4 separate regions of the Homo sapiens genome follow, and regions 2, 3 and 4 are each linked to region 1. Evidence: promoter capture Hi-C in 16 types of primary human blood cells and fetal thymus (Javierre and others, 2016). All regions are on one chromosome and are shown on one strand. Each heading gives the region's core, a stretch centred on a gene start or on the middle of the fragment in contact. The rest is flanking DNA. Distances are from core to core; before and after follow the strand shown.

The links. The method cuts DNA at HindIII sites, captures the fragments that hold promoters and counts their contacts. A CHiCAGO score of 5 or more calls a contact.
Region 2: a contact is called between a fragment that was not itself captured here and the fragment with the promoter of HAUS6 in region 1, in 1 of 17 cell types (neutrophils). The highest score is 8.4, in neutrophils.
Region 3: a contact is called between a fragment that was not itself captured here and the fragment with the promoter of HAUS6 in region 1, in 2 of 17 cell types (M0 macrophages and monocytes). The highest score is 7.8, in M0 macrophages.
Region 4: a contact is called between a fragment that was not itself captured here and the fragment with the promoter of HAUS6 in region 1, in 1 of 17 cell types (total B cells). The highest score is 5.0, in total B cells.

Annotation. Positions count from the first base shown.
Region 1 is chr9:19,101,473-19,104,482 of GRCh38, reverse strand. It overlaps HAUS6 (HAUS augmin like complex subunit 6), which reads left to right and starts at 1,579. Exons shown (of 17, transcript NM_017645.5): 1 at 1,579-1,959. The coding sequence starts at 1,832. RefSeq lists an enhancer at 1,337-1,900. The HindIII fragment of the contact is 8,228 bases long and covers 1-3,010 here.
Region 2 is chr9:20,684,121-20,686,931 of GRCh38, reverse strand. It overlaps FOCAD (focadhesin), which reads right to left and starts at 2,673. Exons shown (of 44, transcript NM_001375567.1): 1 at 2,639-2,673. FOCAD-AS1 (FOCAD antisense RNA 1) reads left to right here and starts at 2,182. Exons shown (of 2, transcript NR_121601.1): 1 at 2,182-2,364. RefSeq lists an enhancer at 2,231-2,811 and a silencer at 2,371-2,811. The HindIII fragment of the contact is 8,422 bases long and covers 1-2,811 here.
Region 3 is chr9:20,989,296-20,992,407 of GRCh38, reverse strand. It overlaps FOCAD (focadhesin), which reads right to left. Exons shown (of 44, transcript NM_001375567.1): 42 at 2,034-2,285. Among named protein-coding and RNA genes, the nearest start is that of HACD4, 41 kb to the left of the region's middle. The HindIII fragment of the contact is 1,067 bases long and covers 1,084-2,150 here.
Region 4 is chr9:20,622,596-20,625,632 of GRCh38, reverse strand. No RefSeq gene overlaps it. Among named protein-coding and RNA genes, the nearest start is that of MLLT3, 1.6 kb to the right of the region's middle. RefSeq lists silencers at 2,536-2,675, 2,696-3,037. The HindIII fragment of the contact is 1,902 bases long and covers 496-2,397 here.

The DNA of each region.
Region 1 (3,010 bases), core at 330-2,829:
TCTCTCTCTCCTCTTTTTTTTTTTTTTTTTTGAGACAGAGTCTCACTTTGTCGCCCAGGCTGGAATGCAGTGGAAGGATCTTGGCTCACTGCAACGTCTGCCTCCCGGGTTCAAGCGATTCTTCTGCCTCAGCCTCCCGAGTAGCTGAGCTGGGATTACAGGCATGCGCTACCACGCCCGGCTAATTTTGTATTTTTAGTAGAGACGGGGTTTCTACATGTTGGTCAGGCTGGTCTCGAACTCCCCACCTCAGGTGATCCGCCCACCTTGGCCTCCCAAAGTGCTGGGATTATAGGCGTGAGCCACTGTGCCCCGCCTCTCTCTCTTTTATTAAGGTGATTTTAGTGAGGCAGGAGACAATCATTGCCAGAGGTAGCAATGAGACTTAAAAGCAGGTTACCCAATCCACTTCCAGGCCCTGTTGTCAGTGGGGTTTGTGGTAGGCAACAGCTGTCAATTAAGACGACGGGCCGGGTGCGGTGGCTCACGCCTATAATCCCAGCACTTCGGGAGGCCGAGGAGGGCGGATCACGAGGTCAGGAGATCGAGACCATCCTGGCTAACAGGGTGAAACCCCGTCTCTACTAAAAATACAAAAAATTAGCCCGGCGTGGTGGTGGGAGCCTGTAGTCCCAGCTACTCGGGAGGCTGAGGCAGGAGAATGGCGTGAACCTGGGAGGCGGAGCTTGCAGTGAGCCGAGATTGCGCCACTGCACTCCAGCCTGGGAGACAGAGCTAGACTCCGTCTCAAAAAAAAAAAAAAAAAAAAAAAAAAAATTAAGAGGACTGCAGGCGGCCAGGCGCAGTGGCTCACGCCTGTAATCCCAGCACTTTGGGAGGCCAAGACCGGCAGATAACCTGAGGTCAGGAGTTCGAGACCAGCCAGCCAACATGGTGAAACCCCGTCTCCATTAAAAATACAAAAAAATTAGCCGGGCGTGGTGGCGGACACCTGTTAATCCCAGCTACTCGGGAGGCTGAGGCAGGAGAATCGCTTGAACCCGGGAGGCGGAGGTTGCAGTGAGCCGAAATCGCGTCACTGCACCCCAACTTGAGCAACAAGAGCGAAACCCCGTCTCAAAAAAAAAAAAAAAAAAAAAAAAGACTGCAGGACTGCAGGGGAGTATAGAGCCAGATTTCATTTAAAGCAGGAAAAGGAACATCCGGCATTTGAGGACATAGATTTCGCTAACGACAGAAATGAGGCTCAGAGATTACGTGACTTGATTAGAGTCACAGTGAGCATAGCGGAGGATGGAACCAATGCTTTAACTCTACACCGAGGCATAGTGCTCCATTTATGGCTTTTTTGTGACGTAACAACTAGGATACACAAGCAAATGGACCCCACTAACCAAGAATCAGAAACCCGAAGGCCCGAGGATCTGGGCACGACAGCGGTTAAGCAAGCGCAGAGCAAGTCGCTGGCCGCGCAATGCCCGGTGGGTCTTGCAGTTTCTTGGCTGGGCATGGCCGGAAGGGAGGAGAGAAGGACGCATTGCATGGCGGGAGATATAGTCTTTGCCGGAAGTCCCTCCTCCCTCGGACGCCTGGCGGCGCCGGCGCACACTGCTCTTCCTTAAGGGCGGGAGTCTCGGTTTGTGGTGGCTTCGCTGAGGCAGTGGTGGCCGCACTATACCGTTAGAAACTCAATTTCCCGGAGGTTGTGAGGCCCTTTGAGGCGAAATCGCTCTGGGCGTGAAAGGAGCAGGCGTTGGCAATGGAAGGACCACCGCGACCTCAGGCTGACCGTAGGGAGGGATCTTGAGGGCCCTCCGAGTCCCCTGGGCTTGCGCTTTCTTTCTTTGCAGCCACCGTGCCTACCGCGAGGATGAGCTCGGCCTCGGTCACCGCTTTCGAGAAGGAGCATCTCTGGATGTATCTGCAGGCGCTCGGCTTCGAGCCAGGCCCGGCAACCATTGCCTGCGGAAAGATCGTGTCGCACACGCACCTCGGAGTGTAAGGAGGCCGGGGCCGGCGGGGCGAGGGAGCCTGAACCGGGGGACGCCGGGGGACTCCCCCTTTTGTAGACCCCGGAGGTTGATTAATCAGAATTGGTTGAGCAGTTACTCTGTGCCAGGCATTGGCTCCAAAGTTCCTACTCCCAGTTGCTGCCAGCCTAGGGGCAGAGACAGACAGTAAATAATGCAAGAGTGCCGGAAGCGCTCTGTAGGGGAGTGCAAAAGTCTGCAGATGGGGAGAGTGCAAGACTGGAGGAGCAGCTTAACTCTGCCTATGTGGTGGAGGGGTGGTCTGTGAAGTAGTGGGAGGGATGGCGGGTGGTAGTGGAAGAGCATGGGAACCATATGTACAAAACACCTTTTGGACTCAAGGGAGCCTTTGAAGGTGGTTGTTTAATTTTATAATTTTTAATTTTTTAATTAGTAAGGCATGTTGGAGTTAGCATAAAACAACGGAGAAGGGTATTAAAAACAAATACCCTTTTAAGAAAAGTATGGAAAGTAAAAGCCCCTTCCCTACTTTTTCCACTTCTGTTTTATCAACTTTAGCCAGTATCTCTATTTAATCATTCCCACTGTAGGCCAAGAGGAATTCTTTTCTTTCATATGGAGTCTCCCTCTGTTGCCAGGCTGGAGTGCAGTGGCACGATCTCGGCTCACTGCACCCTCCAACTCCCTGGTTCAAGCGATTCTCCTGCCTCAGCCTCCCGAGTAGCTGGGATTACAGGCACTTGCCACCACGCCCAACCAATTTTTGTATCTTTAGTAGAGACGGGGTTTCACCATGTTGGCCAGGATGGTCTCGATCTCCTGAGCTCATGATCCACCTGCCTCGGCCTCCCAAAGTGCTGGGATTACAGGCGTGAGCCACCGTGCCCGGCCTCTATTTTTTTAAAGTATTATTATTTTAGAGACAGTAGCTAACCATGTTGCCCAGGCTGGTCTCAAAATTCCTGGGCTCAAGCAATCCTCCTGCTTCGGTCTTCCAAAGTGCTGGGATTATAGATATGAGCCATTGTTTTTTGTTTTGAGACAGGGTCTCCCACTCT
Region 2 (2,811 bases), core at 276-2,775, 1.6 Mb before region 1:
TGGGCTCTTCCACATCACTTAAAACTTTGTTGTTTCAAATCATTTACATGGAGGAAATTCACAAATATCCCTTGTCCTATCAGCTTAGCAAATCTTGTTTCTTATCATGTGGAAATAGTAACAAAACCTCCATCAATCTATTACTAATTGTGAATCACAGACTTATACTCATATAAGTATACCATACTTTATTATACCATGCATCTCTAGATCTATAGATTTCTCATCTCCTAAAGAAATACTTACTACCCACTTGATCAAAATTTAAATTATCACCCTAATTTTCTTTTTGTGCTTAAACCAAGTTCTTTGTTATACATCAAGAAATACTGATTAAGATCAAGATTTGTTATAGACTAATAATCCTTAAACTATTATTTCCTTACACTTCCTCCAAATATAGTTATTATTTCTCATTGTGGTTTTTTCCCGCTAGAAGGTTAATGTCCTCAGCTCTTGAATTTTCCCCATTAACCTTGCAATCTTGATCAGGTCCATTTCTAGAACTGAAAGATGTAACACCAACGCGGAGGGATCACTTGAGGTCAGGATTTCGAGACCAGCCTGGCCAACATGGTGAAACTCCGTCTCTACTAAAAATACAAAAATTAGCTGGGTGTGGTGGCATGCGCCTGTAATCCCAGCTACTTAGGAGGCTGAGGCAGAAGAATCACTTGAACCTGGGAGGCGGAGGTTGCAGTGAGCCGAGATCGCAGCACTGCACTCCAGCCTGGGCGACAGAGTGACCCTGTCTCCAAACAAACAAAAAAATAGCAAATGCAAAATTTTAAGAAGTTATATTTTCTTAAATTTTCCAAACTCCTAATAGTGATATTAACAATTTAATTCAACTAATCACTTGTGGACAATATCCCAAAAGTATCATGAAGCTAAGAATATTATGTCTCAGACTGTTTCATAAATCATTTTAAACGGGGAAAAAGGCCAAACGATTTACCGGTAAGCACCATCAATCAATCAACAAATGAAAAACTCTGGTTATACGTCCATGAAAATTTTGATTTCAAACTATTTATTACAGGGCGCGAGGCTGTGTTCCGCCTCCTCCAGCTCCTCCTGATAACCTTTTGGTTATCAGGCGTCAACTGGAGACAACAATCAGTTAAAATCCAGTAAATTTGGGGTTAATGAAACAAATGTTAAAATAGATATAATATTGATAAACATTAGCCAAGAGATGGTAACTACCTAACATTGATTAAGTAAGCAAATAATCAAGGCAGAGGTTTTAGCTTCCACTAATCTATAAAAGCAAGTGAAAATGCTTTGAAAATTGCATTTTTATGCAATTGTTTCAATATCATACCTTTGTATGTAACATTAAAAAGCTCATGATTACTTCATTTCAAAATTCAGATGAGTCACAGTGCTTTCTACGCAGGAATTGGATGTGAATCAAAATTGTAAACATGCACTTGCTTGGTAGTCAAAAAGTGAATGTGGACAGATACAATGTTCGTTGACACAGTAAAACATAATCATAAAATGCATCCTGTGTTTTTAAAATAGTTACTTCCTGTTAACACAGTTCAGGAAACATGCCATCTACCCTCCTCTCCTGGAAAATCTCAAAATTATACTAATCCCATTCCTCTTCTTACAGATAGGCCACTGAAACCTGGAGTCATTACTGATACAGTTATCAGGATTACACCCTCAGAGCCACGATGGTTTCAGGGATACTAGAACCTGAAAATAACAAAAAAAAAAAAAATTTCCAACTCAAATCTAGACAATAAAACTAACATATAAACTGGAATAAAACGCAGGAAATGCCGATTTTAATACCTGGTATGAGGCTGACCATTAAGGCATCCATCAAAAAAGTTTGGAATGTATGAATGAATGACTGCATGAAATTGGCAGGATTTCATTCATTTCAAAAGCTCCAAATTCAGGAACCACACTGAGATATCAGGACGCCACAGCTGAAACTAAAACTCATGAAGGGTAAATGCAACATAACTGCACGTCTCCACGCGTTAGCTGCTGCGAAAATTTCAAAACATACATCTAACATACTCTTTCTTCAAGTAATTGCCGCAAGTGCGGACGGAGCCAGAGAACTAGGAGACTGAAAACAGGCCCTGCTCACCCATAAGCCTTTGCATTATAAGTGGACATGATCTGAGTGAGTCACCGGGAATGAGAAGGAGACAGTCACCCCAGGCCAGGCAGGACGCGGCCAGAATCTCCTGCTCTGCCCCCAACTAGGGAACCGGTCGAAGGAGAGTGGGACGACTGCAACCTGCTGCAGCTAAGTATGCAAGGATCGCGCCGACCGGCTTCCGAGTCGAGATCCCACTAAGTCCCACCGCAGTCACCACAGCCAGCCCTGCCCAGGTATCTCGGAGCTCCGTAACCTCAGAAGGCCTAGTCCTCCAGAAGCTGAGAGCCCCAGCAGGACCGGACGAGGGCAAAAAGCCCCCTCCCGGCTGCCCCTCGCCGCGACGCGGCCCTGCCGCCACATGCTCCACTGCCCCGTCTCCCAGCTCAGCCCCAGCCCCGCAGGGCCTCAGCCGCCCTCCATGCAAGCCGACCGGGCCGCAGGCGGCGCGACCCGGCGGCTCCCGAGCAGGGGTGCAGCGGTGGCAGCCCGCCGCCCCGCACGGCTTACCTCCCTTCTGCCACAAGCTCAGCCCAGCGCCGGCTGCCTGACGTGGCCCGCCCCGCCGCCTCGAACGCCCGGGGGCGGGGACTGCAGGAGAGAGCCAATGGGCTGCATATCGCGAGGCCCTGTTCCGCCTCCTCCGGCTGGGGCCCGCCCTCCCCGGCTCGCGCGCACGCGCG
Region 3 (3,112 bases), core at 368-2,867, 1.9 Mb before region 1:
GATATAAGCCCCCATTTCTGAAATAAAATATGTTTCTGTAGATGAGAACAGTTGTGCCCAAATGGATATGAAACAGAAAATTGAAATGCAAGAGAAATGGCATAAAATAATTCACTAGGTAGAGCCAAGCATGTTAACCATGAATAAATCCTGCAAATGAGGTGGAAACTCATAGTATTTATGAGTTTGGCTGATCTCTCAGGATGCAGCCTGAATTGTTTTTGAATTAGATACAGGGTAATTTAATCAATGACTGAATGCTGCCAATCTTGGTTCACTAAAAACACATACATTGGTGATAGGTAATAGGCATTTTAGTTTCACATATAGAAGCTAGATTGAAGAAAGAGTAAAATAGGGAGAAAAAGAAAATATTCCTAATTCCCTGCTTTAATCAAAAATTTTTTTCTTTGTTGATTTTCCTTTTCTCAGTTTTGTGCTATAATATCCAACCGATAAGCAAAAAAGTCAAGCACTACAAATATATAATCAATGCAAGAGGTCTACATTGTAGTCCAAAGGGAACGTGGTATCCCAGTCCAGAAATAATATATGGGAAGACCACATTTAAATTTTTTTTTTTTTTTTTTTTTTTGAGACAGAGTCTCAATCTGTCAGCCAGGCTGCAGAGCAGCGGAGGGATTGCGACTCACTGCAACCTCCGCCTCCTGCGTTCAAGCGATTCTCCTGCCTCAGTCTCCTGAGTAGCTGGGATTATAGGCACACACCACCACACTCGTCTAATTCTTGCATTTTTAGTAGAGACAGGGTTTCATCATGTTGGCCAGGTTGGACTCGAACTCCTGACCTCACGTGATCTGCCTGCCTTGGCCTCCCAAAGTGCTGGGATTCTAGGTGTGAGCCACTGTGCCCAGCCAAAATTTGATTTTAAATGGGACACAAAGCACAAAATTTGGGGCAGCAATACTAATGCTTATCAGGTTTAAGAAAAATAAAAGGCATTTTAGTTGAGATACTTGGTGGAGTTGTGCATAGCTAAACTATGGGTCTACAGTTCAGAAATGTTTTTAAAGATTAATGTTCAGATTTCAAGAATAAGCAAAAAAAAGTTAGTTTGAAGCTTTCAACTTCATAAAAATCCAGTTTTGATTAAATGAGATTCAAAAAAGAATCTTTCAACCAACTGTATTAAGGACAGGTCAGAAACATATAATGAGAAGTACAGTAAGCACAGTTATGCTTTGCAGAACAGCTAGTAGCCTGGGGAACCTCAACATTAAAAACCAAAAAATGTTTCCTTTTGGGTCATATGTTTTAACAATTCAAAGTAACACATGTTCACATACAAAGCCCTCAACATGACGCAATGTCATCTTCCCCTTCACCCAACTCCTTCTCCCGCCCCACCCCTACTCCAGAAGAGGAACTAGACTGAACAGCAAACTAAACAATTTAGGTTTTCCTGAGGGCAAGGGTGATACTATCAGACCTTTACAAAGCTCTGTTTGGCATCTAGCACAGACCAGGGCACACTGGGTGCCTGGAGCATATCTGTGCAATGGAATAAGCTATGGGGAACCTTAAAGATGCTACAAGAAGATGGATGCTCCCGACCCACATTTCCTGGCAGAAAACTTCCTGACCCACCCAGGCATTGTTGATCAACTCCTTCCCTTGCTCATCACCACTGTATCTTACTTATCACACGATTTGCAATCCTGAATTTGCCTTCCCGTCGACCCTCACCTTGAGATTCTGAGCTCTGAGACATACTCACCCTTTCCTCCCCAGGATCAAGAAAACAAGTGCCTTCAATAAATGAAGTATGGACTTTTCCTCCACCTCACTCCCAGCTGTAAGCAAGCTGCCACCTTGTTGTTTAATCAGCAGTTGCCCCGAGCCTGGGCTAGCCTCAATCTCTGAGACTCTGCATCTGGCTGAGATATGGGGCTGGGTAGGAAAGTCTGTGGTGTGATTCAAGACGCACTTAACTCCCACCTCAATTCTACAGTAGAAACTGCTGAAGAGACAATGGCTGCCTGCCCTGCTAAGCAGGTGGCTGCCAGCCTCACCTTCTGGGTCTGTTCCTTCCATGGCTCTTTCTGCAGCAGCAGAGCCATGCTATTGGGAAGGAGAGTGAGAACCTCCTGCAGAGTGACCCTGTGCATTGGACTCCTGCCAAGGAAGCTTGGTACTGGCCCAGCCGGGCCATTCTCCTGATGCCATGGCAACCAACTGGCACTGAGGCCGAGGAGGAGAGGGGCAGTGTGGTCAGCCCATGCAACCACTGCGGTTGCAAATATCAGCAAGAAGAAGTCCAAAGCCTACGATGAAAATAGAAATGACGTTAGGTCATATTTTTTAACAATTCAAAGTAACACATGTTCACATACACAGCCCCTGTCGTGAGGCAATGTCATCTTCCCCTTCACCCAACCAGTCCCTCCTGCCCTACCCCCACCCAGAAGAGGAACTGAACTGAACAGTAAACTCAGTTTCCATGTTTAATGAAGATACATTTTGGGGCTTTAGAAGATTTTTGAAGTCCCTTTATGTGAAGGCAGAAGACCCAACAGTTTCATTATTATCGCTCTAACATTTCAGGAGAAACATCGTTTATTCAATTCCTAATCACATCAAGATCCAAACATTCCTCTGTTTTGATGTTTTCAAAGAGCTTACAAAATGAAGAAATATTTATGGTTATGTGGGCAAAACTAATTTTTAAAAATATGTATACTCTGATTCTACTTTTGAGCAAGTCTTTCTTCATTTTTTTTAAAAAATGTTTTAAGAAATGGGGTCTCACTATGTTGCCCAGAGTGATCTTGAACTCTTGAGCACAAGAAATCCTCCTGCTTCAGCCTCCCAAGTGGCTGGGACTATAGACATGTGCCATTGTGCCCAGCTTCTTCATGCATTTTAAACACCTGTCCAGGATCTATCCATTTAGATTTCAGACTAATCTAGACAATCATAGAAATGGTGATTATAGGAGCCACCTCTGAGTAGTTGGATTACTGTGATTTAAACTACACTTCTTTCTGCTTATCTGTATTTTCTCAGTGTTTTAAGGTTTTTGTAAGAAAACAGAGAAAGTTAATAAAAACTTAGGAAATCAGAAGAAAGAGGACAGATCACGCAAGTTCAA
Region 4 (3,037 bases), core at 197-2,696, 1.5 Mb before region 1:
TCTCTTTGTTCTGCCAGAAACATGGAAACTGGCTTTAGCTTCCAGACTAAAGAAAACAATTGCAAATAAAAAGGCTGGAGCCAAAATGATGGTGGTAGGGCAATGGTGATGGTAGTGGTGGTAGTGATCTGTCACAGACACTGTTCTCTTTTATTCTTCATCACGATTTTTATTTGATATGTTAATTACTTTTCTGATCTTCAAACTAACCCCATGGTGCTTCATACTGTGCTATATACAACAGTATGAATTTTGGTAAGATAATTATTCTTTGGATAAGTAGATGATTTTATCCCTCACCACTTCCATTTTAGTTATTATATTACTATTTCTGTATTTAGCACTGAAGTTTGTCTTAAAATTTCTTTACAGTACATTTTCTATAACCACATTGTCAAGTACACAAAAGGTTATTTTCCACATTTTTACCTCACGTTAAAGTGTGAAGATCTGCACAGGAAATTAATCGATTTTAATTGTTTTTAATGGCAAGCTTATTAAAATAGGTTGTAATTAATAAATTGACAGACTTGCATAAATTTCTTTGTCCAAAGTTGAAGGGAGAGTATTCAGTCTTGTGTTTTCTTTTCTTTCTTTTCTCCCCCTTCCTGATCTTTTTGTTGTGAAGGGGTCACGTAAGGACGTCCGTGGAAGAGCTCCGTGCGCCATCTACTGACGGAATCTAAATGTCCAGTATTTGGAGATTGGGAGTAACTACGTTGGGTTGTTAGAGCATTCTTTGAGGAAGGAGGGGTACTGGGAAAATACCCTTTCAGACTCTATGGCTTATTAGTGATTGCTGGAATAAATCTGAATTCAGCAAACACATAATTCAAAAAAGAGACCTCTATCTGTTGTGCGGGTACAAGTTTTGGAGACAATCTCAAGAGAGTCCGGTGGCTGGCGCCGGAAGAAGTTAAACCCTGAAATGAACTCAAACGGGGAATGGGATTGTTGTTTTTTGCCTGTGTCCTGAGCTACACTCGCTGTTAATGGTTACTTCTTAATAAGAAATGGCTTTACTAATGGCACGTCCAGATAACCTTTAGTTTCCAATACTATTATTACAAAGGACTGCTCTCAAATTTGATTATTTTATGAAAAGTTTAATAATGCACAATAAATAGGTCCCCCCTTCACGTAGATACTACCCACACAGCTTGTCTCTGCGAATATAAACGTAGTCCTTGTACATACATACAGACACAGCGACGCATATACCTACAGGATGATATGCAGTTATGTATATGTGTGTCAGTTGACAAATCTAAGCCCTTGGATTTAGATTAAAATGTTTCTACCTTCAGTCGTTTGCTCCATTCTATGCTAAATCCTGTAGAAGGCTGGGAAGAACTGGGGACCTCAAGCCAAAGAAGTTTCTTGATTATAACTGACAGGCAGCGGAATATCAGTTTTAGGGAATCAAAAGTTGAGTTGGAAGGCTGCTGGTTTGGAAACTAAGGTTGGTTCCAAGTGGTCCGACCTGATTCCCAGGATCTTTGTGAGAGCTGCTGGGAGAACTGAAAATTAACAGCGAGGACACAGGACGCCCTAGGTAACGTCCTCCCCGCTATTCTGCTCTTCTCAATTCAAGGGCCGAGACAACTTGCTTTTGTGGAAAAGGGAAGTAAAGGGAAAAGAGGAAAGCAAGGAAGTTCAGTCAGAAAGAGGAAGAGGGACAAAGAGGAAAGAAAGGGACAAAGAGGAAAGAAAGGGACAAAGAGGAAAGAAAGAGGGACAAAGAGGAAAGGCAAGGAGAAGAGAAGGAAAAATCAAGGTTCAGCAAGAAGTTGGAAGGCGAGGGAAAAAGGGGAGTAAAGAGAAGGCAAAAGAGGTCTAAGGGCTAGGAAGATGCAAGGATCTTTTTTTAACGAACCAAAGTCACATCCATCTTTCACTTTCAAATCAATCGTCTAGATCTTATCCGTTTCCTTTTTAAAGGTTATCTGCGTCTGTAAAGGAAGCCAGTAGTTGATACTCCTCTCCGCGCCCCACGCGTGGCCGCGCTGTTCTATCTCCGGCCACTGAGATCAAATACAACGCGAGTGAGAACATTTGCAGAGGCGCGACTCTGGGAACACTCCTGCGACTGGCTGTCACCCGGGAGTCTAACCGGATTAATACTCAGAGATGGATTACGCTGGTTGTCACCAATACGCCTAAAGATTATAATCCAATTTACGCACATTACAGTCAGTATTAACTTTATCTGCTATTTTAAGACTCCCGGTTGCCCCGCGCGTCCTCAGAGGACAATCCTCCACGTTCTGATGCAACTCAGTAGGCTGTCAGGAGGGGAAGCCCCCCGAAGAAAACAACTCCAAGCCTGGTCCCCGAGGGTCTGTACCCGGCACTCCCAGGTGTCTTGCTTTCACCTGGGCACCGCTTTATGAAGCTTCCCAGCCGGGGATTACCAAAGCGGAAGGCGTTCCCTTGCAAGGAAATAGCATCCTTGTTTCTCCCTTGTTCATTTCATTTTCAAATTTTCGGTGGCGGTGGCAGAAGGGCGGGGAGTGAGGGTGGCGGGCGGGTGCCTGTGAGTGGATGGGGCAGGGGGCCAGGGGATCGTTGCGGGTTAGAACAGCCTCAGTCATTGCTATTTTCATGCTCGTTTTTTGCAGGATGGCATTTCTCTCGCTCTCTTTAAGTAAGTTTGTTTGGGTGTGAGTTCTTGTCTTTTCAGCACAAAACCACAGAAATACGTGGTGGAAAGTAAAAGAAAGCCCACTCCCTCCTCCCCGTGCGTACTAGCTAAGGACTTGATTTAACACCCCCTCTCCGGCTGCTGAGGGCTCTAAGCAGTGGCTACATTCCAGCAGTTTTAATCCGTTTTTTATTGTAGGGCGAGCAGAGTTTACACAGGGGCTGGGATGGCTCCCCAGCTGGCCGCTCTCCCCACTCCTGCGTCCCCTCCCTGCCACCCCCCCAGCAGGAACCTGTTACTTTAAGCGAGGCTTTCCAGTGTGGCGCTGCGGGCCGCCGGGGTTTCGGGAGGTGGCAGGTGATTGGCTCTTTCGAGCTCCCCCTGGCTCGCTCG